7 separate regions of the Homo sapiens genome follow, and all the other regions are linked to region 1. Evidence: promoter capture Hi-C in 16 types of primary human blood cells and fetal thymus (Javierre and others, 2016). All regions are on one chromosome and are shown on one strand. Each heading gives the region's core, a stretch centred on a gene start or on the middle of the fragment in contact. The rest is flanking DNA. Distances are from core to core; before and after follow the strand shown. Region 1 holds the start of GABPA (GA binding protein transcription factor subunit alpha). Region 2 holds the start of LOC124905005 (a long non-coding RNA gene). Region 3 overlaps CCT8 (chaperonin containing TCP1 subunit 8). Region 4 has its middle 12 kb from the start of CCT8. Region 5 holds the start of LOC124905007 (a long non-coding RNA gene). Region 6 overlaps BACH1 (BTB domain and CNC homolog 1). Region 7 overlaps USP16 (ubiquitin specific peptidase 16).

Region 1 (4,169 bases), core at 912-3,411:
CCGTCTCTACCAAAAATACAAAATTAGCCGGGAGTGGTGGCACATGCCTGTAATCCCAGCTACTCAGGAGGCTGAGGCAGGAGATTCCTTGAACCCAGGAGGCGGAGGTTGCGGTGAGCCGAGATCGCGCCACTGCACTCCTCCACCCTGGGCAACAAGAGTGAAACTCTGTCTCAAAAAAAAAAAAAAAAAAAAAAAAAAAGAAATCCTACTATCAATGCAATCAACAAAATATGCTTCACCTGACAGAATGAAAGCAAACTGTTTGAAGAAATTAAAGAATTCATAACATATCACTTTTATACCCCATCAGGGAAAAATACTTGAGAAAAGGCTACAAGCAAACAACAAATGACCTCACAAGGTCATGTGCCACTTATTATCATTCCTATGTTTAAACACACAGAAACTGAGGATTAGAAGTATCTGGTCAAAGTGGTCGGGCGCGGTGGCTCACGCTTGTAATCCCAGCACTTTGGGAGGCCGAGGCGGGCAGATCACGAGGTCAGGAGATCGAGACCATCCTGGCTAACACGGTGAAACCCGGTCTCTACTGAAAAATACAAAAAATTAGCCAGGCGTGGTGGCGGGCACCTGTAGTCCCAGCTACTCCGGAGGCTGAGGCAGAAGGGCGTAAACCTGGAAAGTGGAGCTTGGAGTGAGCAGAGATCGTGCCACTGCAATCCAGCCTGGGCGACAGAGCGAGACTCTGTCTCAAAAAAAAAGTATCTGGTCAAAGTTACACAGCAAAATCTAACTTAACACATATATGCAAAAAAAAAAATTGTGCAATTCAATGCCACTTTCCCTTCTGGCAAACTAAGGACATGCTTAACATTCAGCAATAGGTTCACCCGACATTTGCTTAGCCCTAGATACTGTGCAAAGTACTTCCATATATATCCTTTCCTTGTACCCTTACAGCAATACTCTCAAAGAGTTAAAGTGTTCTTATCCCTGCTTTACAGATGATAAAACTGTATCTAAGAAAGATTAAGCTGCACGTATTCTCACAGTTAATTTGCTCTAAGTCTGACTGCATAGATGTTACTCCTTCTGCAACACGGGTAAAATCCACTTTCATTGTTTCAATTATCCACCATGTAAGTGCCTATGATTCCCCAATCGCATTTCTAATTTTAGTATTCATCCTGAGCCCCAAATCTATCCACAGCATTCAACAGTTCTCATCTCCCTTATAAGTCCTACGAACTCATCCAAAAAACGAACACATAATCCCATATCAAAACTTGTTCCTTCTCCTTTAATCCCTTTCATTTTTTTTCACTGATTAGTGAATGCATATTGTCCACTAAAACGCAGAAGATAGTCATTACACAAATAGCTGTGAAATACCACCTGACATAAATTCTCTATTCCAGTACCATCGGGTGCCACGAGAGCATATGATAGCGTCTGACATGATCAGAAAGACTGGGGAAGGCAACAGTAAGAAAACACTAGTCTGAGCAGAGGCCTTGTTCTGGGTGGGAGCATGGTTCTATTTATAGTGATGACTGACCGGCCAAAGGTTAGTAGGTTCGCTGCCTCTTCAGTGCATATTCCTATGAACAATCCATAAAGTCGCCTAATGAAGTGTTAGCACCATCGTTTTTAGGTGGGATGCAAACTTTCAATATTATGACTAATTTTTTCCCTCTTAATGGTACACGTTCTGCCTAAGTAGCCTAGACGCTCCCGTGCGCCCGGGGCGGGTAGGCCTGGCCGAAAATCTCTCCCGCGCGCCTGACCTTGGGTTGCCCCAGCCAGGCTGCGGGCCCGAGACCCCCGGGCCTCCCTGCCCCCCGCGCCGCCCCGATTTGCCCTCAGAGAGGGTATCGATCTTATTTCTGGGTCTACGGCAAACTCCAAGGTCTACAAACGTAGAGGTCAGCTGTGACCCCGGGCCAGGCCGTGAAGGTCCCCAGGACACAGAGCTGCTCTCTCCTCCTAGTAAAGGTGAGAGGCAGCCCAGGCCTCGTGAAAAAACCCAGAACTGGAGTCCCAAAAGGCCACGCTGATCTAGCTACCCTCCCAGTCACCTTGCACTCAGTCCCGAGCTGCCAAAGCCTCCGCCGCCACCACCTCCGCTCTACTTCCGGCCCTGGCTCCGCCCCCACACGCCTACCCGCCATCGCAATGCATTATGGGCCGCCGTTTCAGTCGGTCGACGCTCACCGGACAGGAAGCGTCTCGGAGACAGTCTGCGACCGGACGGGTCTAGGTGAGACAGAAGCCAAACAGGAGGAGGAAGTGGAGGGTAAGTGCTTCCGGGTCCCCTGGCACAGCCTCCGCCATCTTTTCTTCGCCTAATTTGACCCGTTCTTTTTCCCCTCCTTGAAACCTTGCTCTGTACGCATGCGCTCTTTGAGTGGCCTTTCCCCTAGTTCAAGCTCCCCTCCGAGTCAGCGTCCTGTTCGTTAGGGTTATCGAAGTGTATAAAGGTGCAGGGAAAGTGAGACTGTGTAAAACAAAGCGGATTGGGGCGTTGTGCTTCCTTGTACCTCGTGAGCCTCCGTTGCCTTGGGCGGTCGTTTTGCGCACCCTGCCGGGAGTTGTAGTCCTGGACCCGAAGGTGCCTGGGAGGCGGGAGGGGGGTTGGGGCTTCTCAGCGCCGATTCCGCGGGAAGGGCCCTGGGACCTCACACTTCTAGTCGCGGGAGCTGCAGGTCTTACCCGGAGAGACGCTGCACGTGGAGCCCTCGCCGCTGCCGTTCTCAGCCGGCTCTGGAGTGCGGGCGGGGGCGACAGGGCCGATTCCGGAGTGGGTGAGTGCGGCCGCCGGGGAGGAGGGGAGCGCGGGCCCTCGCGGGCCGGCCTCGTTCCGGGGCCTTTTCCCCCACAAGGGCCCCCCCGCGGCCGCCTCTGTGTTTTGTTTCCGCTGGTCCCCGGCGCTGTGACTCCCATTTCCGTTCGTGGAGACTTGAGGGAGCCGGGTGGGGAGGGGCGGGAGAGCTGTGCGGGGAGCGAAGGGGAGGGGCGGGGGGCGAGCGGCCTGGAGCCCGGGGGGACCGGGCACCGCCGGGACCCGTGCCGGACGGGTCGCCTGTCGCCGCTCCCTCCTTTCCGCGTCCCCTCCTCGCCCGTCCGCACTCCTCAGCAGTCTCAGCCTGCTCAGCTGGGATGTGGTCCTGACGCCCCCGAGATTTTAAGAGCAAAATGCAGACCCTGTCTCATCGCGGGACTCAGCGATTCACTCATTTCAAATCCGCTCTCTTTATAGAACAACACACACCAGAATCATTTATCAGCGTATATGGTAGCCATCTGGGTTTGTTTTTTTGTTTTTAAGCAAGGAAGTAAACCAAGGAGATAACAATGGGTTGTCTACTTGGAAATTTTTTTGTGTACTAGAAGACACGCTGTATGTGCGTGTTTGGATTTAGGGACCCCAGTTTGATCAGGTTAGCGGACCGAGAGGACAATGCCTAATATTGCATTGCAAGATGATTAGAAATTTAGAAATAAAATTCATTTCATAAGTAGTTTCCACTAATAGCAGTAGGTCTGACTCGTGAGAAGAGCAAAGATTTAGCAGGATTCACTTGAGCGAATTGTAGAACGAGGCGGTGATAACATTCTTCGGTAGTGTTATCTTGAACTTCAGAAGAAACCGCTCAACTCTTTAGCAACTGCTTGAGGGACTAGCCTGTCTCTCAGGGTTCCATCCAGGCTTTCCAAGCTTCTTTATTTTTAGACATACAGTGACGCTGAGTGGACTTCAAGTCAATTTTACCTGAATTGTGTATACAAGAGCATCTGTCATGAGGCATGTATAGTAATGAAGTAATTAAATCATGAGCTAGATGTTAGGTTGAAGCAAATCATCAGACCGAGTACTAAATTAAAACTGTTGACTTTAGCCTTCCCTCAACTCTTTATATATAAAACTCCAAACCTACAGAAGAATTGGGGAAAAAATCATGCAGTGAACACGCAGATACCCTTCACCTGAGGGTCCCAACTGTTAATCTTTCACTGTATGTGCTTTCTCTTTTTATATTACATAGATATGTATGCTTTGCTTTTTCTTAACTGCTACCTTTATTTTTGAAAATAAAAATGTCTTTTAATTTCCTCAGACACAGAAAAGCATTTGATAACTTAGGAAAATGTGCAGTTAATCTCGCAGGTACCCCCACACTCCACTTATAATATATTGGGAACAA
Region 2 (4,061 bases), core at 847-3,346, 3.3 Mb after region 1:
ACCATTAATCCATTTGTGAGGGCCCTGTTCTTTGGGAACTTTTTCAACCCTGCCTTCTTTCTCTTCTTCTGAAATGCTGATGACAGGAATGTTACATTTTTTGTTATATCCCTGCATATCACTTAATCACCTCTGAAAGGTCCCACCACTCAACTCTATTGCTTTGGGATAAAGCTTCTAACACATGAACTTTGGGGCACACATTAAACCACAGCAGAGACCATCTCAGTCTTAACAGTCCTAAAATAGGTCTAAATGGCCTGGCGCAGTGGCTCACGCCTGTAATCCCAGCACTTTGGGAGGCCAAGGCAGGCAGATCATGAGGTCAGGAGATCAAGACCATCCTGGCTAACATGGTGAAACCCCATCTCTACTAAAAATACAAAAAATTAGCCGGGCGTGGTGGCGGGCACCTGTAGTCCCAGCTACTCAGGAGGCTGAGGCAGGAGAATGGCGTGAACCCAGGAGGCAGAGCTTTCAGTGAGCCGAGATACAGCCACTGCACTCCAGCCTGGGCGGCAGAGCGAGACTCCTTCTAAAAATAAAAAAATAAAAATAAATAAAGTAAAATAAAATAGGTCTAAATTATATTTCTTTAATAATAATTCTTTTATTATTTCTTTTCTGTTTAGAGAACCTATTTTAACCATTCTTTTAGGATAGGTCTGCTGGTGACAAATCTCCTAGATTTCCTTCATCTTAGAATGTCTTGATTTCCCCTTCATTTCTGCAGAATATTTTCACTGGATGCAGTATTCTGGCTTAACAGGTTTTTACTTTCAACAATTGAAAAATGCTGTGCCTCTTCACCTAGCCTCTCTGGTGACTGATGAGAAATCACTCTCATTTGAATTGTTTTCCTTTACAGATAAGGTTCATTTTTGTCACTAATTTTAAGAATTTTTCATTGTCTTTGGTTTTCAGAAGTTTGATTATGATGCGTTTTTTTTTTTTTTTTTTTTTTTGAGATGGGAGTCTCACTTTGTCACCCAGGCTGGAGTACAATGGTGCAATCTTGGCTTATTGCAACCTCCACCTCCCAGGTTCAAGCAATTCTCCTGCCTCAGCCTCCTGCGTAGCTGGGATTACAGGCGCACACCACTACGCCCAGCTAATTTTTGTATTTTTAGTAGAGATGGGGTTTCACCATGTTGGGCAGGCTGGTCTCGAAATCCTGACCTTGTGATCCACCCGCGTTGGCCTCCCAAAGTGCTGTGATTACAGGTGTGAGCCGCCACACCTAGTCTTTTTTTTTTTTTTTTTTGAGATGGAGTTTTGCTCTTGTTGCCCAGGCTGGAGTGCAATGGCACAATCTTGGCTCACCACAACCTCCGCCTCCTGGGTTCAAGTGATTCTCTTGCCTCAGCCTCCCGAATAGCTGGGATTACAGGTGTTCGCCACCACGCCCAGCTAATTTTTTGTATTTTTAGTAGAGAAAGGGTTTTATCATGTTGGCCAGGCTGGTCTCAAACTCCTGACCTCAGGTGATCTACCTACCCTGGCCTTCCAAAGTGCTGGGATTACAGGCGTGAGCCACCATGCCCAGCCCCATATGGTTTAGGTATTTATCCTAGACAAAAGCAATCCTAATTAGGCGAGAGACTATATGGGCACAATTCTTATTTGTGACTTCTCAGAGTCTTAAACTGTGAATTTCCAAGAGGGGTGTTCAGTATTCTGTCTGACTCCAGAACATGTTTTTCCAGGCCAAATGACATTAGCCCTCCTCTCCACAGAACAGAGCAGGATTCCTTATTTTGCCATGTAGTTACCTGAATTTAAGTAGTTTAAATATAAGCATTTAAAGTATCATAAAAGATGGTGGGTAGCCTTGATAATATTTATACATATATTAACATATATTTATTAATATGTCTATTCATGTTTAATTTGAAGTTTTCCTCTTCTAATAACTGTTGGAACTGCAAATATTCCTCCCTCCTTTAATCGCAATGTTTTCTTTTGTTTTTTTTCCGATTTTTTATTTATTTATTTTTTTGAGACGGAGTTTCGCTCTTGTTGCCCAGGCTGGAGTGAAATGGTGCAATCTCGGCTCACTGCAATCTCCACCTCCCAGGTTCAAGCGATTCTCCTGCCTCAGCCTCCCAAGTAGCTAGGATTACAGGCATGCGCCACCACACCCAGCTAATTTTTTGTATTTAGTAGAGATGGAGTTACACCATGTCAGTTGGGCTAGTCTCAAACTCCCGACCTCAGGTGATTCACCCGCCTTGGCCTCCCAGAGTGCTGGGATTACAGGCATGAGCCACTGCTCCCGGCCTTTTTTTTTTTAAACAAAATCCTCATACATACTTAAAATCCCTGGACTTATTGGAATTCCATATACATATTTGCTGGTCTGTTTTGGAGTTGAGAAACATAAAAAACAACTACTTGGGTGGTTATTAGAGGAAATGGTTTACTTTGTTTTTTTGTTGGCGTGGCTCTGTTACCAGTGTTTTTGGATTCTATTACCAGATTGCCAAGGTGCGACTCCTGGCTCTGCCACTTACCAACTGCAGGACCTTAGGCAAGTGGCTTAATTTATCTGTGCTTTAGTCTCCCCAACTCCATAACTGGGATGAGAGGGTTGCTGTGATGATTAGATGAGAATTTGTGGAAAGTGCCTGGCAACAGTAAATTTTATATGCGTGCTTGCTACTATTATTATTAATTAAAAAAACCTTTTTTTTTGAGACAGGGTCTAGCTCTGTCACCCAGGCCAGAGTGCAGAGTCGGCTCACTACAACCTCTGCTTTCTGGGTTTTTTAGTAGAGACGGGGTTTCACCACGTTGGCCAGGCTGGTCTCGAACTCCTGCCGTCATGATCCACCCGCCCTGGGCTCCCAAAGTGCTGGGATTACAGGCATGAGCCACCGTGTCCGGCTGCTTATTACTATTATTATTATTGGTCATCATTTCAACAAATGTTTCTCAAGCACTTACGTTCAAGCACTGGCACTAAGATAACAATGAATGAAAGTAATAAAACAACTCTACTGGTGGGAGGATACCATGACATCAAAAACAAATTTATACGCCCAGCCCAGGTGCGGTGGTGGCTCACGCCTGTAATCCCAGCACTTTGGGAGGATGAGGTGGGCGGATCACCTAAGGTCAGGAGTTTGAGACCAGCCTGGCCAACATGATGAAACCCCATCTCTACTAAAAATACAAAAATTAGCCAGGTGTGGTCGCCCACGCCTGTAGTCCCAGCTACTAGGGAGGCTGAGGCAGGAGAATCGCTTGAACTGGGGAGGCGGAGGTTGCAGTGAGCTAAGATCATACCTCTGCACTCCAGCCAGAGCAACAGAGCAAGACTGTCTCAAAAAAAAACAAAAAAGAATTTTTGTACCCAGTGAATAACTGCTATGAAGAAACCTGAAAAAGAAAACAAGGATAAGGGAAACAATGAGGCAGCAGGGGTGAGACTGCACACAGCATTGTCAGGAAAGGCCTTTCTCCTAAGGTGACTGTAGGGAAGAGACTTTAAGGAACTGAAAAAGGAGGCCATGTGTTTTTCTTGGCCAAGAGTGTTCAAGGGAAAGCGAACAGCATATTCAAAGGCCTTGAGGAAGGAGGGTGCTAGAACAGCTGGCCAGAGCACAGTGAGCTGAGGACACGGGGAATAGAAGAGTTTAGTAAGGAAATGTGGGGCAGTTTATGTTGGGACTAGTAAAGCATGGCCAGAATTTTGAATTTTATCCCGACTGACATGTAAGAGCTACAAGAGAGGTTTGACTTATGAAGATCCCCACACTTGCTGCTATGGAGAAAAGTGAAAGGAAAAGTGGGGTGACCAGATATAGACACCGCAATAACTAGGGAGAGATGATGGTGGCTTTGATAGGATTATAGTGGTCAAGTTGGTGAGCTTCAGGTTCTGGATACATGCAGAGAACAGAGGCAACAGGATTTACAGATGAATTACATGAGACACGGAAGAATGACTCCGGGGCTTTAAGGTACTGAAAGTATGGATCTGCCATTTATTTAGACGTTGATGGTCATGGGGAGCTGAAGCTTGGTTTTAGACACAAGTAATGAAGTGCCTACTAAGA
Region 3 (3,938 bases), core at 1,011-3,510, 3.3 Mb after region 1:
AGGTTTTACTCTATCAAGCACATTTTATCAAAAATATACTTTAATATTTCAATACTAACATTAAAGTGTGAATTCTATTATTGAAGAGGAATAGGACGATTTCCACCCCACTCAAAACTGTCTTATAAGCTTATTATAATTCAGAGTATTATGAAGAACACAAAAAAATTAGTATTTTGCGCTGGGCGCGGTGGCTCACACCTGTAATCTCAGCACTTTGGGAGGCCAAGGTGGGCAGATCATGAGGTCAGGAGTTCGAGACCAGCCTGGCCAACATGGTGAAACCCTGCCTCTACTAAAAAAATACAAAAATTAGCTGGACATGGTGGCATGCACCTGTAATCCAGCTACTTGGGAGGTTGAGGCAGGAAAACCACTTGAACCTGGGAGGTGGAGGTTGCAGTGAGCCGAGGTCGAGGCACTGCACTCCAACCTGGGCAACAGAGCCAGACTCCATCTCAAAAAAAAAAAAAAAAAAAATTTAGTATTTTGTTTATACATTATTCTTAAACCCACAAGACATCACAGAAAATGACTTTATAAGGAGATAATATGTCAATATCCTTTTAAACTTAAATAGGTAGTAGTATTATTACAACTTAGCAACATCAAAATGTTACAAAATAATGCCTCAAAGGCCAGGCACGGTGGTTCACGCCTGTTAATCCCAGCACTTTGGGAGGCCAAGGCAGGTGGATCACCTGAGGTCGGGAGTTCGAGACCAGCCTGACCAACACGGAGAAACCCCATCTCTACTAAAAATACAAAATTAGCCGGGTGTGGTGGCGCATGCCTGTAATCCCAGCTACTCGGGAGGCTGGGACTGGAGAATCACTTGAACCGGGAGGCGGAGGTTGCGGTGAGCCGAGGTCATGTCATTGCACTCCAACCTGGGCAACAAGAGCGAGACTCCGTCTCAAAAATAAATAAGTACATAAATAAAAATAATGCCTCAAAAAAAGTCCTAAGTGTTCAAATCATGAAGTAACATTTAGGTTTAGATGAACACATTTTTTTTTTTTTGCACAAAAAAACAAAAAAAGCACACAAAAAAACTGACCTAGATATGTAGCATTAATGCATTTTCTACTTACCAGAATTTTACAAACTCTGATGTTATCAACATTGAAATGGCCGGAATCAGGAAAAATAGATACTGTTAAGAAAATGAGACATATCAAAAGATTATTTTGGGACAACAGAGAAAGTATCTAGTCATGTTAAAGGTATTTTTATTTTGGATCTTTTCATTTACTGATATTTACTTACCGCATGCCTGAGCAATAAGCTTGGCCAGAAATACTTCATTACCATATTGTTTACTCATTATGGAGGTACGAAGTAGAGATGAGACTTCATCAATATCTCGAAGGTTTTTTGCAGAACAACATACCAAATTAGGAAGAATCTCATGAGCTTTTCTGCAGGCTATTTCATAACCTTCTATGACCTAAAACATAAACAACATTTCCTATTCTGACATGACTTAAAGTAGCTTATTTTGGTAACCCAATGCATATGGATGTTTATTTTTGATACAAAATGACAAAGAATATACTTCGGAATAAAACATATAGTAGACTCTACTAGTTATGAATGGAGGCTTAGATGACAGCCCAAATTTGAATCTTAACTCTACCTAACTCACTAGCTATGAGATCTTGGGCAAGATTTTTCTAATTTTAGTCTCTTTTCTCATCTAAAATAAAGTGGGAAAAAAAATAGATAAAATGGGATTATAAGGCCTCACTAATAGGGTTTTTGTGAGACTAAAATGATACAGCATGTGAAGCATATGTACTATAATGGCTGGTACAGAGCAAACTGCTCAGTGCATGTTAGCTACTACTATAATAATGATTTTAGTTTATGTTTTAAGCAGGTGTATATGTAAGCAAAAATTTAGTAGGAGTAAATTATAAATGAACACTTGCCTCTGAAACTGACAGGCCAATCCTCAGAAGTTCTTCAGCTAATTCCAGGAGAGCTCCAGCAAATACCAGAACAAAGTTTGTGCCATCTCCAACTTCTTGCTCTTGCATATGAGAAGCCATTACAATCATTTTTGCAGCAGGATGCTGTACCTAGTAGAAAAGGTAATATCAAGTTAAACATCTGATCCTTAAAGCAACATAAAATTGTTCATTTCCATTTCTTAAATAGACTCAATTTTCTTGTAGATTAGGTAACTCCATCTGATCACACTGCTACACTGCTATACGCTACTTATAGTGTGGTCACAAGAAAAAATCCAAGTCCCTTTATGCCGATCAGCACAAATGTATCACTATAAATAAGAATTTCAAAGTGCATCCTCTTTTGGTGGCCTGCACATACAGTGCCACACATATGTTTCACCATATCATATTTCACTAAATTAAAAAACAAAGTAATTACAACCACCAAACCTAGATATTTTTTAAAAGCCTTCAGGAGAACTAAAATAGATACCACTTAACTTGGTCATGACTCTCAATATCTATTTTACTATATATTCTTGTTGTAAGGGTTATCATTTGTGATTTAAAGAAAAGGGGGAGTATAAAACTTTTCTTCAAATATAACATAATTTTATGTGGATTTTATTCTTAGGATTTAATTTTAGATACCTTTACAGAAACAAGCCAAGGAGTAAGAACTGAGAGCAACAAGAAAACTATAAAAAGTCAGCCCTGTGATTTTATTATTTTGACGGTATCACCACTGTACTTTAATAACTCCTGAGATCATCAGTGTGCAACATTAACATTCACAGTGACAAACCCTTGTACAAGTGTTTTGTGGAGTTAAAATTTAACTTTTAACTTAAGTTCTTTAAGAATTTATATATATAATATGTATTTTTTTTTCTTTTTTGAGATGGAGTCTTGCTCTGTCGCCCAGGCTGGAGTGCAGTGGCGCGATCTTGGCTCATTGCAACCTCCGCCTCCCAGGTTCAAGCAATTCTCCTGCCCTAGCCTACTGAGTAGCTGGAACTACAGGTGTGTGCCACCACGCCCGGCTGATTTTGTTTCTGTATTTTTAGTAGAGATGGGGTTTCACCATGTTGGCCAGGCTAGTCTCAAACTCCTGACCTTAGGTGATCCGCCTGCCTTGACCTCCCAAAGTGGTGGGATTACAGGCGTGAGCCACCGCGTCCAACCAAAAATATATTATTTAAGAGGTTAGAAAAATGTTGATTCTTCTATCGTTTCATTTAAAACAAAAGATTAAGTTCTAGTGCTTTCAAGGGCTAAGCTTCAGGAAAATTCCCTGAGGTTGAATATGTTATCCTTTAATTACAAGGCGGGAATGAGGAATGGCTCTCTCTGCCTGTTCAGGTGCCAGACCTTCCTTATAACCCTGCTGGCAGGCAGTATCTATTTTATAGATTCTAATAGTAAAACTAAAGCTGAACAAAGTAAAATGCCATCAACTGATTGTTTTTATTTTCACAAAACCAAATGGTTGGATCTTTTTAAAAACCACTGTTATATGTATACGTTTTTGCACTGTGGAATAATTCACTTCAGAGTCACCCTATAGAATGAAGACAATGGTAATCAATTTCATATCGTAATTAGCAATGTATCACAACCAATCCCTCCATAAATTAATAACTTGAGAGATTTTTAAGATTTCAGTGGCTAAAACATTCAATCTAAAGAGGACTCTTTATAATTAGAACAATCTGTACAATAAATTTTCAAGCTGGAAAAATAGTCCCTTATCCAATCTGAAATAAGAGATTTCTTCTAGTTAAAATCTACTTAATTTTGATGTCACCAAAATATTTCTTGACTTTTTAAAGAAACAACTTACTTCTAGTTCTCTTAAAATAGTTGCTGCATCGTTTGTCACAAACAACTTCTCCAAGTGGTTGATAACCATTTTGTTCATTCCTCAAAAGTAACAGTTAAAAAAAGAAAAAGAAAGCCATTATTAATCAAATCCTTCCC
Region 4 (4,251 bases), core at 776-3,275, 3.4 Mb after region 1:
ATGCCGTGCAGCACATTCCCATTTAGATAATTAATTTTGCCCTCGGATGAAGCCAGACCATTAAAGTTTTAGTCCTTTGGAGGACTGAGTTTGATAAATTGCATTTTGGTATCATGCCATTGTCTTATAATAAGGAAAATTAAAAGGAATGGCCAACTATCATAGACTGTTATCTCTACTCGATGCCTGTTTTTGATGGATGTCAATCATTTCATTGCATGGTATCCTTTTTATATGACCTGTGGGAAAAATTTATCTCAGCATTCAACCATGGTTTTTATATTTTATGGCCGCTATGAATCTTCCAATGTTTTTGTTTCTCTCTTTAACTGCTGGAAACTTAGAGCCAAATGTGTAGCCCATCTCTACCAACTCTACAGGGCTCTGGTGCAACATTTCTGTCTACCACTCTTAACATTTGGTTTTACTATTTTCCTGATTGTTCTTTCTTTTTTGCTCAGACTATCTCAACTTAAAAAAATCCTTAGTGATTTTATTTGTTTTTGTAAGCCACATAAAGTTCTTTATGGAATCAGCTGGGATGTGTGTGTGTGTGTATATATGTGTGTGTGTGTGTATGTAATATATATAATATTACCTCTCTTGTTTATGTAATATATATATCTCTGTTTTACTAATTCTGAAATAATCATTTAATATTATAATATATAATATATATAATTGTATATAACATATGTATACACACATGTATATGTATATATTTTATGACATATATGTAATATAATTATATATAATATTATATGTATATATACATGTATAATATGTATATATTTTTTTTTCCAAAATTGCTAGTTTATGAATTCACAGATGGTTTGGGGTTGATTAAAGGGATTAGCAATTTCACTTTAGAATAATTTTGTTTTTTACTTAGAAGGAAGAATTTATAATTTGTGGCTTAAACTGGAAACACTACCACATCATAAGTAGCACAACACTAAAGCATAAAAAGCAATCTTGAGACCTTCTTACATTACTATATATAGATTCTATTAAAAACAATAATGGGAACTAGAGGGTCATTGTAGAATATTTTTTCTTAAGGTCTACACACTAATTGATTCATGTAAGATGGTCCCTGATTTCTTTTAGGTACTTAGCCCATGAGCCAGTACTTATTTTTGTAGTTGGATTAGTAACGATGCTTGATGGTTCAAATGCTTATCAGCCATCATCATTCTCACTTGCCCTGTTCTTAATGTTTTGGCTATTTTTATTACAATGATTTCCTCTGGGATTTTCATTAGGGTCAGTCATTAGCCTCAGGGGAATAAAATCAAGGGAGGATCTATGTGTCTATTTATGTAGCAGTCTGCTAGAGCAATTACATTTTCTCATTGCTATTTGATTAGACTATTTTCTTTCTTACCAGATATTCACTCCTCTGACTCTATGCCAAATGCACCATCGAGGTGAAAGTTAAATCACATCAGGAATCTCAATGAAGAAGGAGGGTAATGGTTACCAAAAATCCTTCCAAAAGATCTTTTCATTCCCTGACATCATCACACAGTGATTTTTGATAACTTAGGCAAATATAGTCTAAACGCAATTAGAAATTAACTTTCTGAGATGAGTAAGAAAGTTTATTTAGGAAATGCAAGTGAGAAACAAGAAGTAGAAGAGAATATGTTTGGGAAATGTAATAATGCACAGTGACTTATCTCAAGATGATTCTCAGACTTTGCCAAAAATTCACAAAGGAAAAAAAAAGTCAGCAAGGAAAATGCCTGTCTCTAAGCCCATATTTTCTCTCATTTGAGGTGTGGAATAACCCTTAAGCCCTTACCGGGGTCCTTCTGGACTGAGAATTGTTGTAAAGTAATACTGCTCAGGTTCGTAAGTTTTATAATCTTCTCACACAGAGCAAATGAGAATGGGGTGGGAATGTGCAAGCCAAGAGCAGTCAAACCTGCCAGTAGTAGCAAAAGTGACAGCTAGACCAACAAGGGCTTGACATGCTTCAAGGAGACTTGCTCACCAGAACTTGAGAAACATAATTGAGGCTTTTAGGTGAAACCATTGCATTGCACGTAGCCGTGTATTATGCTTAAAGTGATCATTGGCTATGAATAAACAAAATAAAGATCCCTGCACCTTATTTAAGTGGTCATTGGACATAAAAAGTGCATTTAGGCTGAGGCAGGAGAATGGAGTGAACCCGGGAGGCGGAGCTTGCAGTGAGCTGAGATCGTGCCACTGCACTCCAGCCTGGGTGACAGAGCCAGACTCTGTCTAAAAAAAAAAAAAAAAAAAAAAAAAAGCATTTAAATTCTATCAAAAATGATTCAAAGTTTACTAATATCTTTTGGTTCTTGTTGGGGTGAGCTTTGCTTGTCTGCAAAATTCATTTATGTAGAAAACCTCGTTCTCCCCAATATTGTATGTGAATGAAATGTTACTGTATTTAACATTAATTGAATGCCAACGGCATGGTTAGTATGTTGTTTGAAGGAATGTTGCGATGGCTTTGATGCAGAATCATAACTCTCTATATCCCCCAGGTGAAAGACAACTTGAGTGGTTAAATTACTGTCATGCAAAGCGACTAGATGGTTCAGCTGATTGCACCTTTAGAAGTTATGTGGAACGAGGCAGCAGATCTTAAGGTATGTCCGCCTTCCCCCAACCCCTTCCTGTAAAACTGTCGACTATAATCCTGTTTTCAGTGAAAACAGGGTGGGAAAAATGTAGGAAAGAAGCAGAGAGAAATGGACCTTGGAAGTCTCAGCTAACCATTACTGTTGGCAATCTGTGGGAGGTCGGCAGACTATTTGTTAAGGTGCTGATTGAAACTCTGGGACACCGGTTCTTTCCCTTAATACAAAACCAATTTTGAGCCAAGTCATTTAAGACCTTTTGAAAACTGATTCTAAAATAGCATGTGATATCCTGCGGAAAAAATAAACCATGATTTAGTAAACTAAATGATCCGTGGAGTAAGGACTGCTTTATATGGTGTTCTTAGAGAAAGAGCAGGCACAGATGATAAAATGTGGCCAGGAAAAATCATTGGCACATCTATGTGAGTTCCAGCTTGAAATGAACTTCTCGAGGTTCATGGCCCCGTAAGTGTTTGCTGCCCACCAGCTCTGGAAAATGAGTGGAAGGATTCCCACCCAGCTTGGAAAACAGAAAGTCCGCTTACCTGATGATGCTCTGGGGGAAATTAAGGAATGTTGGTGTCATTTCATAGTGACCACAGCATTGAGTATTGCTCCTTCAGATTCATTTTGCTCTAGGCTGATCAACATTTCACTTCCGTGATGAGCAGTGCTGGCCTAAGATTTTACTTAAGTTTCATTGATAATAAAGCTGATGGTGAGAATGATAATGATGGCAAGAAATATAGTAAAGCCTGCCCCACAGTAACGAGAATCTGGCCAGGTGGTGATTGGCAATAGACTCCTATCCTCTGCTAAGGCCCTGTTCTTTCTTCATTAATCTTGCAATAACTTGACCCTGAGTTTTAAAGTAATAAATATTTTGGACTTCACATATTGTATGTTAGGGTTTTATCATATATCAACAATGATTATGATGACGTCCCCCTTTCCTGAGTATTCACTCTGCACATTGTGCTGAGTGCTTTATGCGTGTTATCTCAGTCTTCACGACCATCCTGATGAAAGTCCTCCAATGGCTTTGAACTGTACTTAAAATAAAAACCAAACTCTAAACCAGTTCCTCTAAGGAGTGGCATGATCTAGCTCCTGCCTACTTCATGTCCTGCGTCTTTTCCACTTGCTCTGCCCCAGCCACACTACCTTCTTTTTGTTCTTGTGACATGCCACACTCATTCTCTCTGCTGGACTTTTTCACCAGCTTTTCCTTCTGCCTGGACCTCTCTTCTCCCAGACCTTAGTGTGGTTGATGCCTCCTTCAGGTCCCAGATTAAATCTCGTCTCCCCAGAGAGGGTTTCCTTGACAACTCTGTCTTCAGGAACTTCCTCAATATTCCTTTTACATCACCCTATTTTATTTTTATCCTAAAAGCTAATACTCCCTAAACATTTTCACATTAATTAATTTTAAAAACTCTCTATCTCTGCCAATTTGGATGTAATCTTCCTGAGAATTTGGACCAAATATGTTTTTTAATTATGTTCCCAGTTCTCAGAACAGTGCTTGGCACATGTTAAGTGTTCAATAAATGAATGAACCTCAGTTTTTGGATGAAGAAGCTAAAGAACAGAGAGGTTAAGCTATGTCTTAGGTCGTATATCTCCTAAA
Region 5 (4,272 bases), core at 516-3,015, 3.6 Mb after region 1:
CTGCAACAGCAGTCAGTGTGTCTGAGTTGAATCCTGGCATTACCCCTTACTATCTTTGCATTATTGAGGAAGTCCTTTAACCTCTTCAAGCTTTGGATTCTTCATTTGTAAAGTGGTAATAACATCTTCCTCAATGTGCTGTGAAGACTCTAAAAGAAAAAATATATAAAGTGCTTAGCACAGTGATTGGTGCACATGAGTGCTCAATAAAAGGTGACTAGATGCATTATTTTTCTGTGAAACATTGAGAATAAAAGGGATGTTGCCTTGTAGCTTTCAAACAAAGACTTTTTGGAAACTTGATAAAGAGGCCATGAGAATGCACCTCCCAGACCTTCTACCACAGGGCATAGTAGAAGGCCATTTGTAATTGGCCTATGGCACCAGCTACTAAGTTTTGAAATGCATGGGTACCTTTGCTTGAGGCTTGAGGCTATACTTCCCATGGGCTGCTCCTTGCCAGTGATGCAGTGTAGTGGGGATACAAAGGCAGACTCATTCATAGAGCCATGGGACTCCTACCAGTGTCCACTTAGGCTCAAGGACTTTCTGCTAACTTTGTTGAACCTTCGTTAGACTGCACTGTATTTCTACGATGCTTCCATGCAATCTTCTCTCCTCTCTTCTTTGCTTGAGATTAGGCTTGCAATGGAGTCTTATTGCTCTACCTGCTGTTTCCTTTCACACAGGCATTCCTTCTAATCAATTCCTTGCATGTTTAATCCTGTTCCAGGTGTTGGCTTGTTAGAGGATCTGAACTAACACACTTGCGTTCTTGTTCAGTGTACCCTGGCAATCATGCTGATTGGAACTTGCAAAGGGTTTTTCCTGGCCCCTATCTCAGGAAAATGATGTTCACCACTATTTTCCTTAGAAGTCTCTCTTCATTCCTCCAATGGTTCCTTGACCTCATTCATTTGATTTCCCACCATATTTTAACAGTGAGAGTCACCTCCCATCACCCTTCTTTGATTTTCCTTCCAGCCACCTATATTTAGTAATTCATTCTTCATCTGCTCCTTTTTTTCTCTCTCTTCCTTGCAACTTTGAATTGTAGGATGTTTAGTGAGACATCCTATATCCTTCATATATCTTTGCACTTCCTCAACTTTTAATTGCAGTCAACTTTGCAAATTTGCATAGAGATTTTCTTTATATAATTAAGTTACATATAATGGAATTTTTACCGTTTTTGTGATTCTTTCTTATAACTCTATGTTCTACATAACCCTGCATTTAAATACTCATTCAGTTTAGTATTGGACAAATTACTTCTCTGATTCTCAAACTCCTCGCTGTGAAACAGGGATGAGCATACATGCCCCTTCTGGTTGTTGTGAAGATTAAATGAACACACATCAATGGAACCTAGCTCTGTGCCCAATGTTTGGCAAAAGTTAGTTCATTCTCCTACCTAGGTAACTCAAAATCTAAGACAGTTCTTGGTTGTATTAAGAAGAAATAAAATACTGCTTAAACTGAAAACATTCAAAGATAGAAAGCAGGCTCATAGAAGTTAGCACAGCTAAGGGCAAGATTTGAATTCAGATTTCCTGATCCCAGAGTGTGCCTTAATTACTAATCATTTATTATAAAAGAAGACAAAAAGTACTTCACTTCTATCTTGTCAGTGTGTTAGTCTGTTTGGGCTGCTATAACAAAATACTATAAACTGGGAGGCTTACAAAACAGAATTTTATTTTTCACAGTTCTGGAGGCTGGGAAGTCTGAGATCCAGAAACGGGCAGATTCTGTGTCTAGAGAGGACCCACTTCCTGGTTCATGGATGGTGCCTTCTTGCCGTGTTCTCACATAGTAGAAGAAGCTAGTCAGCTCTCTGGGGTCTCTTTTATAAGTATACTAAGTGCATTAATCACTTCCTAAAAGTGCCATTTTCTAAAACCATCACCTTGGGGTTAGGATTTTCACATATGGATCTTGAGGGAACACAAACATTCAGATCATAGCAGGTGGGTTCCCCAGAAGCAGACCCTGAGACAAGGATTCATGTGCAAGTGATTTGTTATTTATTATTTTCCTCCCAAGGGAAATCAGTAAGGAAATGAAGGAAGAATAGGGAAGGAGAGGAAGCCAAACAAGGTGCAATATTGGACAAAAGTCCTGCGGAAGATAGGTGTGGCCTGATCCCATAGGGGAACTTAGAGAATAACGTGAGGCAGAGGAGCTTGGCTTTCATACTCCTCTGCCCAGCAGCTAAGCACCATCCAGAGAGAGGTAAAGTTGCAGGCATTTCTGAATCAACATGTGCAGGGGATGGGGGTGGGAAGCAGCTTCACTGACTGAGGGAAGTCTTCTAAAGAAGGGCTGGCCATCGGGAGCAAGAGCAGAGAGGTGCACAAAAATGGTAAAAGGGGTCTGAAGGGTCTCGGTGGATCACCAACACTGTGTACTTCAACTCCAGCCTGCTCCCTGGGAGGCTGTTTTCACAGTTTTGTTTTCACTTAGAAGATGCTTATTTCAAAGAGCGTGCACGCAGCTGCATCTTCAACCTTTTTCCATTGACTGGATTTTTAAATACACACACACACACTCACACACACACACACACACCCCTCTATTCCAAAGGCCATCATCAAACCGGTTTATAACTGAAATTTAAATTAGGGTAATATCTCTTGGATAGTTTCACATTAAGGAATGATTAGTATTCCTCTTGCATAACTTCAAAGCTAAAAAATCCTCAGTGCCACCATTTTCATATTTCTTGATGCTATCTAGTCCCTTCTCAGAATCAGCAAATTAGGCTTGGGCAGGACCTGATCTCTGCTTCACCCTTGCTTTTATCTAAAATATTCTTGGCTTCTATAATAATGAAGCTAATACTTATACAATTATGCCTATGTGCTGGTCTAAATGCTCTTTGTATGTTAACTCATTTAATATTTGCAACAACTCTGTTGTAATAAGTACCAGCATAATCCCTGTTTATGGGTGAAGAAACAGGCACAAATGGGTAAGTAGTAGAAGTGGGTTTCAAACACTCTGGCTCTAACTAAAGTCCATGTTTGTAATCATTATGCTGAAATGCCTCTCCACGAGGGATGAAAGTCCCTCCAAAAGCAGCCTACATTGATTTCTGTTCCATCTACTTTCTCATCAATGACTTCCTGTTAGCCTGAATTGAACTAATAAGTACTCAAGACTAGTAAATACTTAGTTCCTGAACTTGGTGATTCAGATAGCAGGAAGCCCAATGTAGCTTCCTTCCAGTTTCTATTCTAGGCCATCTGTGGCTTGCTTCATATTCTCTCCCAGCAGGACTCCACAGAGGCCAGGATTTTGACACTTTTGACTATTATAAATAAAACTGATCAAAATACCTCCTACAAATCATATGACATAATAGGGAATTAATAGACCTTTTATTAAATGATTACAAATCATACTTAAAAAGGATATAACTGCACACTGTATGATATAAAGCTTTAAAACATGCACATAAATTGATATAAGAAGGCACTTATGAAGTCCATACAGTCAAATTTATTTACCTGTATTTATTTACAGGATCTTCAGGGAATGTTTCAGGTGGAGGAAGGGGCTCTTGGTCAATGAGCCTGAAGACTGCATGGCAACCTTTGCCAGCTTTTGGCCTGAAAACTCAACTTCTTCATTTGAGATAATTCCTGTTTTATATACTTTCATTTGAGATATTCCTGGTGTATCAACTGAAACAAAATCTATGAAATATCAGATTCACAAAAATACATTTTGAATATTGAACGTGGATAGATGTATTTAAATCTTTCCTATTTTTTGCACTTTCATAATATATATCATTCTTTATTTTTCTACTAATAATGATGAATCTACAGTATCTCAGGGCCTTATTTTCAATATCTTAACTGGATTTTTAATAAAAGTCTTACTGAATAGGTAACACTTGTTTCCAAAAACTATGCTCACCTGTCAATGATTCAGAATTCGTCTCTGTCATCCCTCTGCTACTTAGCATTCAGTGCCCTCTACTGCCCTCCCCGACTCCACCAAAATTCTCTCAGGCCCCAACAGTGGCATGGATTCTGCTCTCGATGCTTTCTTCCACTTTCCTGTCAAAATGCATTTAAATCCCATTCGCCATGAGTATTTTTATGAGCTGCTTCTCACTAGAGTGATTACGACTGTCCTTAAATGTGGCTTAATGTTTGCCCTCTGAAAGAATTTGAATTTTAACAGAGAACTTCTGAATACGCAAAACCTTCACCCCAAATAATCAATCTTTAAGGGATTTCGGGCGCCAACTAGAAAAGT
Region 6 (4,174 bases), core at 308-2,807, 3.6 Mb after region 1:
CTTGTGCAATTTTAATATTTTCATTTTATCTTGAGATCCTTATTAAGCTTAACTGAATTTTTATTATAGGAAGTGTTAAGCCAGGTAATTTACAGAAGATCACATGGTTGATGATATCAGTAGAGCGTTAATCTGATTATCCACAGCTGCTGGTAGCCTTAAAATAACCTAAAACTTGATTTCCTGTTGTCCCTAATAATTCTGTGTGTTTAACACTTCATATTTTTCAGAGGGCTTCGTGAGACAGATAGGGTGGGAGCTACCTACTTAGGCTATCTATTCAGTTTCACACATGCACATTTGCCCTTGTTCACATGGCTAGACTTGACTTGATGGGTCTTTCCTCCTCATTTTCCTATAGCAGGGTTCTCTCATTTTTTTTAAACACCAAGTCTTCTTTTTATTTTAGATTTCTATAAAATTTAATTTATTCTTTAGTAATTTATTGTGAAGAATCTGCTAAGTTTTAGAGCCCATCAACTTATCATGTAGTGACAAACCAATTATCTGCTGATGACTGTAGGAAATATCTACTCTAAAGGGGGAAAATGTAATTGGCAATCTTTGGGAGATTTCACGACAATCAAAATAATTGTGAACTATCTTTTTAACCAAGGCACATTTTTTGTTTGTTTATAGTTATTTATTCCAACATTTTTCTGATTATAAAGTAGTATGTATTTATGGTTAAGAATTTGAATGCAGAAACAAAAATTACCTAGATCTTACCATGCTAATATTTTAATTATATATCCTAACAAGGCATGGTGATGGTGATGAGGGTGGCAACCAAGATTTCTGGACATACTGAATTGGTGATGCCTATTAGACATACAGGTAGTAATTTGAGTATGCAGTTGGCTATATGAGTATGAAATTCAAGAGAGAAGTCAAGATTGGACCAAATACGAATATGAGAGTGTTCAGCAAGTCAGTGAAGTGATCGTGTCTCCATTGTGGGTCCAGATGTGTTCACCTAGGGAGTGTGTGCAAAGAAGAAACCAGAGGATTGTGGTATCCTGGAAGCCAAGTGAAGACAAGGTTTCAGGAAAGGAATGATCAACTTGTTAACTATTGCTGAGATGCTGTGTAAGAAGACTGAACATTTGCCATTTGGTGATGTGGAAGCTGTTGAGCTTCACTAAATGGTTTCCACGGAGTGGAGGGGAAAAGGCTTGTTTGAGTGGCCTCAAATGAAATTGGGAAGAGAGGGAAGAGACAGTGTGAGTATAAATGGTTCCTTTTGGAAATTCAGTACAGGAGAGCAAAGAATTATAGATCGAGGGGTATAAGGAGGGTCAATAAATTTTAAGAGAGGATCCATTATTCATCAGTTCCATTAAAGGCAAATGCAAAATTTTATTATGTGCGTGGTTTTCTGGTGGAAGTTCAATAGATTTCATCAGATTCTGTAAGGCAGAGAACCAGTGCTCTAGTGATTTGGCAGTTCAACAGCTCATTTTTCTGGAGGATACCCTTAAAATTTTAACTGATTTAAATTAATATTCACCAGTATTAAATAGTATGTGTAACATCGTACCCAAACAAGATGTCTTTCTGTATTTTTTTCTTTCCTTCTCTTAGTTTTGTTAAAATCTTTTTAGTTCAGAATATTCTCTATCAAATGCCTTTTCTATTTGAAGACTCTCCTAAAAAGTTATATTAATACTTGCAACCAAGTGATCAACCATTTACATTTAACTAAATTTTGCTACTTTTGTTTACTATCTATTTAAACATTTTAAGTTTGTGTTTTTAGTCAAAGTAATACTTGTTGGTTTTTGTTTGTTTGTTTTTTTAAGTACAGAGAACAACCTTATCTGCTGCACCTCACCCCCTAATTCTGCTTCAGAGTTATGTGCAATGTTTACTGGTTTCTGCTATTTAATTTTTTTGGTGGATACCTCTGTCTAAAATGTTTACACCTCAGTTTATTTATCAACCTAAGATATTATCTGTTGACTTGGTATTACTGTGGGTGATGATTTCGTTTACTCTACTATCCCCCCACATGTATTTGTAATCTTATTATTCCACTTCTACTGTTGATCACCTCTGCAACTCCAGCTCTAAACACTTTTTTTCTATTTCTTTTTCTTGTCTCATTAATCTGAGGCAGTGCCTTTTGACTCTGCACATTGTAAGTTGTATGGAAATACCATTCCCATTCTTCCTGATTCTGTCTCCCAGCCTGCTTTATTTTGTCAAGGTTAATAATATTTACATTCTATGCTATAGTTATAATTAAGTCTCTCATTATTTGTCTATTCTAAAAGTTGAAAAAAGTCACAGAGATGTAAAGTGACATGCTTAACTGACAGTGGAGTCCTCAAGTTATAAAGTGCTATTAATCTTTTGTGCTGTCCACCCATAGGTATCCCTAGAGCAGCGCTAGCTGCTGTTTGGCAGTTTCTGGAGAAGTCTTTATGTCCTTACTTGTGCTCCCTGATAACAACTCTGTCCTCATCTTCAGCCCCTGATTGTGGGATTTTAGGGGTATCTGAGATGTAAGCATTTAGAAAGTGGTGTAGACAAACCGTGGAAGAGGCTGAGTTGGGAAATTTTACGTGTTGGGGGAATTTTCATTCTTTGCTTTTTTCCCCTCCCCTCTTTCTTGTGGGAGCCTTAACTGGGATAGTAACAATTGCACCCGCCTCTCTGCCCATTAGTTGCTCATCTTAGAAAATCTACAGTTAACATATTTAGTGGCGAAATACTTAACACTTTCCTTATATGGGAATGAGATGAGGATACCCACTGTCACCACTCTCACTATTCGGTCATTGCAATAAGGGAAGAAAAAGAAATAAGCATAAAGACGGGAAAGAAGTAAAATGGTCTCTGTTTGCAGATGACATGATTGTGTGCATAGAAAATCCTATGGAATCCACAAACAGCTATCCGAACTAGTAAGCAAATTAAGGTTGCAGAATTCACGGTTGATATTTAAAACGATAATTTTGTTTTTACACAATAGCAACAAAACAAAACAAAAGAGAAAATGAAGTTTAAAAAAACCAACTCTGTATGCAGTAACTATAAACATTAAATGCTGAGGAATATAGCAAAAGCTTCACAAGCCCTCTACTAAAAAGATCATAATAATGCTGAGATAAAGAATGCCTAAGTAAATGAAGAGAGATGCCATATTCATATACTGGAGGACTCAGTTTTTTAGATGTTGGTTCTCCCCAAATAGATCTATATTTTCATTGCATTCCTAATCAGAATTCAACTAGCTCTTACAGTAGAATTTAATAAGAATTAAAAAGCCCAGAAGAATTAGACATTTCACAAAAGAAGGTATACAAATGGCTAATAAGCACATGTAAGGAGGCTCAACATCCATTACTTATCAAGAAATGCAAAGTAAAACCACAGTGAGATACCACCATACATATCAGGATAGGCAGGATTAAAAAGATGACAGTACCAAGGGTTAATGAGAATGTAGAGCACGGCTGTCCAACCTTTTGGCTTCCTTGGGCTGCATTGGAAGAATTGTCTTGGGCCACAAATAAAATACACTAACACTAACGATAGCTGACAAGCTAGGAAAAAAAAAAGGTCCATGCATGATTTTCATGCTATCTGCCACCGCCGATGAAACAAAACAGTCCTCACGTTCAAAGGGATGGACACGTCTTACGTAGAGCATTCTAATTAATTGCCATACATTGGAATTGTCATACACTGCTGGTAGCAAGATAAAATGATACAGTCACTTTGGAAAACTATTCAGTAATTTCTAAAAAGTTAGGCATGTGCCTATAATATGACCCAGCTCTTCTACTCCTAGGTGTTTACCCAAGAAAAGTGATACACGAAATATATGTCCATGCAAATGTTCATCAAAGCTTTATTACAATAATCCCAAATTCAGAACAATGCAAGGGTACATCTTTATTATAGTAGTCCATCAGAGTCAAATGGATAAACAAATTGTGGCATATCCATGTAATGGAGTGTTATTTTGTAATACAAAGGAACATCTGATGTATGCAACAACATGAATGAACCTCAGAAACATTAAGAAGTAATGTTTCTGAGTAATGAAAGAAACCCGAAGTAAGAGTACATAATATGTGATTCTATTTGTATAAAAAGAAAATGCACATTAATCCATAGTGACATAAAGCAAATTATTGGTTACCTGGAATCAGGCACAGGGAAG
Region 7 (4,036 bases), core at 1,194-3,693, 3.3 Mb after region 1:
CAGCCTCCTAATTAGCTGGGATTACAGATGTGCGCCACCACACCCGGCTAATTTTTGTATTTTTAGTAGAGATGGGGTTTCACCATGTTGGTCAGGCTGGTCTCGAACTCCTGACCTCAGGTGATCCCACCCCTGGCCTCAGCCTCCCAAAGTGCTGGGATTACAGGTGTGAGCCACCGCGCCTAGCGAGTGCATGGTTTTCTAAATACTTGTTGACTTAAATGTTCTCAGTTGCCTGTGCATATGTAAGTTTTAACAAAATATTGATTCTAGAGTCTAACATTTTCTTTTCAAGATTGTAAGAATGGCAGAATTTCATGAGCCACTTCCTTGTTTATGATAGATTATGCATTCTCCCCTCTTGCTGAGTTTTTATGGCTTTGAGGTTTATGATTATGATTTTTTTAGGGCTGTGGCAGAAATTCTCAGGAGCAGCATGCCTTGAAGCACTATCTGACGCCAAGATCTGAACCTCACTGTCTGGTTCTTAGTTTGGACAACTGGAGTGTATGGTGAGTTTCAGTTCCTCTGCCTCTTGGGTGGAAATTATTTGAAATATTAGAGAATGGAAATGTTTAAATATGTTTAAGAAGAAAGCAATTTAAAATTTTTGTAGTATGTTTTAAAATACCATCACTTTCACAAAGCTAAAGAATGCAGTATTATGAGAAGCTTTTACTTGGACGTTTGCACAAGCACAAACATTGTAACATAGAAGACTTAAGAATCTTTACCCCTTTGTTTTTCTTGCTTGTGATATTATAAGGCATATAGTGGAGATAGGGACGCTAAGAACAAATTTCAGATAAAATTGTAATAAAATTTTGGCTATGAATTTGCATGAAAATAAATGTCAGTCTGGTATGTTATAGATGCTGCATTGTAACATCATTAAAACAGATTTTTACGTCTTAAAAATCATTTTCACAGTAGTCTTCACTGAATGACATCTTTTTTTTTTTTTTGAGACGGAATCTTTCTGTCGCCCAGGCTGGAGTGCAGTGGTGTGATCTCGGCTCACCACAACCTCCGCCTCCCAGGTTCAAGCAATTCTCCTGCCTCAGCCTCCCGAGTAGCTGAGATTACAGGGATGCACCACCACGCCCGGCTAATTTTTGTATTTTTAGTAGAGACGGGGTTTCACCATGTTGGTCAGGCTGGTCTCAAACTCCTGACCTCGTGATCCCCTTGTGATCCGCATGCCTCAGCCTCCCAAAGTGCTGGGATTACAGGCATGAGCCACCGTGCCTGGCTTGAATGGCATCTTTCAATTGTAAAAGTTGTTACTTTTGTCTGGCTAACACGTTGAAACCCCATCTCTACTAAAAATACAAAAAAAAAGTAGCTGGGCATGGTGGTGGGTGCCTGTAGTCCCAGCTACTCGGGAGGCTGAGGTAGGAGAATGGCATGAACCAGGGAGCTGGAGGTTGCAGTGAGCCGAGATCCTGCCACTGCACGCAGCCTGGGCAACAGAGCGAGACTCCGTCTCAAAAAAAACCAAAAAACAAAACAAACAAAAAAAAGTTGTTATTTTTGTTAGTGTTATTCTGTATTTTAAAATATATGTAAACAATCTTTTGACTTCAATGTTATAACCAGTAAAGTAAAACGTTTGGAGTATTTCATCATACTACTTATATGCAGCCATAATTCTGGCTAATTTTATTAATAATAAACCAGAGTTAATATGCATAGTCTTCTTCAGGAAAACAGAATTTTTACGTTCGGTTTCTTTAATAGAATAAGTTGGCAGTTACACACTTTGATTCCAGGAATTATTATTTGTCTCCCCCTTTTTAGTTGTCATTTTGTCATTTTTCATCTCTGATTTTTGGGTCACAGGTGTTACGTATGTGATAATGAGGTCCAGTATTGTAGTTCAAACCAGTTGGGTCAAGTGGTTGATTATGTCAGAAAACAAGCCAGCATTACAACTCCAAAGCCAGGTAAAATAATTTGTTTCTTTAATATACACCAAATGTCGATTTGTGTATCTGCTGATACTTAGATTTGTTATACTACCTAGCATTACATACAGCTGAGTAACATTAGTTATGGTTGATTGCAAACTATGAAACTATTTTTGGTTTAACTATAAGGTATTAGAAGGGATATGAGAAATGATCTAGTCAGATGTGATGAAGGCCATAGACTAAGGTAATGGCCATTAATGCTAAGACTAAGGTAATTCCCATAACCCTAGCCAGGCTTACTATAGACCTGCCTTACACTGTTCTTACTGTCGTACATTTTGTAATAGCAAGATTTCAGTCTGTCTGCTGGGATAACATAAAGCATTTGTGATTCCTTCTAATGGTCAGATATTTCTTAGGTTCTTTCCATGCATAATTAAATTAATTGGCTGACATACAGCATTTGCTTTAAGCATGTTTTTTAAGTTTTTATTGTCACAAGTATCTTTGTCAGAGCCAGAATTATTTGTTTTTTACTTTAGGATTGATTTTTGACCCACAGAATTCATTAAAAAATTTATTTCATGTCCATGTTCTTGATTGTTTTATATTCTTAATTTCACAAGGTAAGATGTGTTCATTTGTAAAGAATTTTCGTGCAGTAAAAAAGGGAGATTTATACCAAAGCACATACTGTTTGGTTTCATTTATCAAACTAATGCTTACTTTAGGTCTGAGTATTTTTTGTTTACTGGGTTTTGTGTTTTTTTTCTGGATGGCAATTTACCTGTATCTATTTAAAATCAAATGGGTGGGTGGGTTGGAAAGAATGACTTCAGGTAAACTCACAAACTCTAGTACTGTTTCCCAAGTATACTTCTGCATTCGATATGACTGTATTACACATTTTGCTAAATCTTTTCTTTTTTTAAAGCAGAGAAAGATAATGGAAATATTGAACTTGAAAATAAAAAATTAGAAAAAGAGAGTAAGAATGAACAAGAGAGAGAAAAGAAGGAAAACATGGCTAAAGAGAATCCTCCCATGAATTCTCCTTGCCAAATAACCGTGAAAGGACTCAGTAATTTGGGAAACACATGTTTCTTCAATGCAGTTATGCAGGTACATTGTCATTTTTTTCCCTTTAAAAAAGCTGTCCTTTTCCTCATAGAATCTGCTACTTACATTATTGAGTTTTTTCCACCTGAGTAATTTATTTCTATGTATCCAAAGAAAACTTTTTTTTTTTTTTTTTTTTTTTTTGAGACAGGGTCTCACTCTGTCACTCGGCTGGAGTGCAGTGGCACGATCGTGGCTCACTGCAGCCTCTACCTCTTGGGCTCAAGCAGTCCTCCTACCTTAGCCTCCAGAGTAGCTGGGACTACAGGCATGCGCCACCACTCCCAGCTAGTTTTTGTATCTTTTGTAGAGACAGGGTTTCGCCATGTTGCCTAGGCTAGTCTTGAACTCCTGGGCTTAAGCCGTCCACCCCCTTTGGCCACCCAAAGTGTTTGGATTACAGGCGTGAGCCACCATGCCTGGCCAAAGAAAACTTAAGGAAAGTTTTATTGCATGACAGTAAGAGAGTTTGGTGAGCACTCGGGTGCAGTGGGTTTGAAAGAAATATTGCTGCTTCTTTCATGGAGCTTGCACTTGGGTGGAGGAAACACAGGATAACCTCATATAGAAGCAAATACGTACCTACAGGTAGTGGTAAGTGGTTGTGAGAGAGTCATGGTGGAGGATTGGGGATAGCTACTTCTGATTGGGTGGTGGGAGAATGCCCCACTGAGGTGATGAATAAGCTCAGAACTGAAGTAGTTATGACCCAAATAGAGTAGGGAGAGAAGCATCTGTAACTTTTCATTTTCCAAGTATAGAGTTTTCAGTGTTGGTCATGATTTTCTGTTTTGATAGAATAGACACTTAAGAAGTGTCAGAGTTGATTTGCCTTTAAATAATTTTTCTCTTTTTTTTTCACCCTACATTCTAGAACTTGTCACAAACACCAGTGCTTAGAGAACTACTAAAAGAAGTGAAAATGTCTGGAACAATTGTAAAAATTGAACCACCTGATTTGGCATTAACAGTATGTTCTTTAAACTTTTCTAGTCTGTAACTTT

The links. The method cuts DNA at HindIII sites, captures the fragments that hold promoters and counts their contacts. A CHiCAGO score of 5 or more calls a contact.
Region 2: a contact is called between a fragment that was not itself captured here and the fragment with the promoter of GABPA in region 1, in 8 of 17 cell types (naive CD8 T cells, fetal thymus, non-activated CD4 T cells and 5 more). The highest score is 15.1, in naive CD8 T cells.
Region 3: a contact is called between a fragment that was not itself captured here and the fragment with the promoter of GABPA in region 1, in 7 of 17 cell types (total CD4 T cells, non-activated CD4 T cells, naive CD8 T cells and 4 more). The highest score is 18.9, in total CD4 T cells.
Region 4: a fragment that was not itself captured here is called in contact with the fragment with the promoter of GABPA in region 1 in 5 of 17 cell types (total CD4 T cells, naive CD8 T cells, non-activated CD4 T cells and 2 more); the score reaches 12.4 in total CD4 T cells.
Region 5: a fragment that was not itself captured here is called in contact with the fragment with the promoter of GABPA in region 1 in 2 of 17 cell types (non-activated CD4 T cells and naive CD8 T cells); the score reaches 9.4 in non-activated CD4 T cells.
Region 6: a contact is called between a fragment that was not itself captured here and the fragment with the promoter of GABPA in region 1, in 3 of 17 cell types (non-activated CD4 T cells, naive CD8 T cells and total CD4 T cells). The highest score is 6.1, in non-activated CD4 T cells.
Region 7: a contact is called between a fragment that was not itself captured here and the fragment with the promoter of GABPA in region 1, in 11 of 17 cell types (total CD8 T cells, non-activated CD4 T cells, M2 macrophages and 8 more). The highest score is 15.5, in total CD8 T cells.

What each region holds. Positions count from the first base shown.
Region 1 is chr21:25,732,811-25,736,979 of GRCh38, forward strand. It overlaps GABPA (GA binding protein transcription factor subunit alpha), which reads left to right and starts at 2,162. Exons shown (of 10, transcript NM_002040.4): 1 at 2,162-2,768. ATP5PF (ATP synthase peripheral stalk subunit F6) reads right to left here and starts at 2,094. Exons shown (of 4, transcript NM_001003703.2): 1 at 2,043-2,094. RefSeq lists enhancers at 1-223, 1,516-1,595, 1,914-2,569, 1,996-2,105, 2,126-2,245 and silencers at 1,706-1,805, 2,746-2,885, 2,946-3,155. The HindIII fragment of the contact is 6,464 bases long and covers 1-3,680 here.
Region 2 is chr21:29,014,283-29,018,343 of GRCh38, forward strand. The region is part of intron 1 of RWDD2B (RWD domain containing 2B); the gene reads right to left. It overlaps LOC124905005 (a long non-coding RNA gene), which reads left to right and starts at 3,304. Exons shown (of 2, transcript XR_007067836.1): 1 at 3,304-3,965. The HindIII fragment of the contact is 3,849 bases long and covers 173-4,021 here.
Region 3 is chr21:29,065,622-29,069,559 of GRCh38, forward strand. CCT8 (chaperonin containing TCP1 subunit 8) reads right to left here. Exons shown (of 15, transcript NM_006585.4): 3 at 3,802-3,881; 4 at 1,935-2,084; 5 at 1,270-1,450; 6 at 1,095-1,156. Among named protein-coding and RNA genes, the nearest start is that of CCT8, 6.1 kb to the right of the region's middle. The HindIII fragment of the contact is 1,949 bases long and covers 1,287-3,235 here.
Region 4 is chr21:29,083,291-29,087,541 of GRCh38, forward strand. It overlaps a transcript of MAP3K7CL not described here. Among named protein-coding and RNA genes, the nearest start is that of CCT8, 12 kb to the left of the region's middle. The HindIII fragment of the contact is 5,814 bases long and covers 1-4,251 here.
Region 5 is chr21:29,284,456-29,288,727 of GRCh38, forward strand. LINC00189 (long intergenic non-protein coding RNA 189) reads left to right here. Exons shown (of 2, transcript NR_027072.2): 2 at 3,529-3,750. LOC124905007 (a long non-coding RNA gene) reads right to left here and starts at 3,625. Exons shown (of 2, transcript XR_007067841.1): 1 at 3,513-3,625; 2 at 1-149. The HindIII fragment of the contact is 3,354 bases long and covers 89-3,442 here.
Region 6 is chr21:29,309,641-29,313,814 of GRCh38, forward strand. All of the region lies in intron 1 of BACH1 (BTB domain and CNC homolog 1), which reads left to right. Among named protein-coding and RNA genes, the nearest start is that of BACH1, 13 kb to the left of the region's middle. The HindIII fragment of the contact is 3,024 bases long and covers 46-3,069 here.
Region 7 is chr21:29,034,429-29,038,464 of GRCh38, forward strand. USP16 (ubiquitin specific peptidase 16) reads left to right here. Exons shown (of 18, transcript NM_006447.3): 4 at 409-512; 5 at 1,843-1,946; 6 at 2,848-3,035; 7 at 3,907-4,002. Among named protein-coding and RNA genes, the nearest start is that of USP16, 12 kb to the left of the region's middle. The HindIII fragment of the contact is 3,546 bases long and covers 671-4,036 here.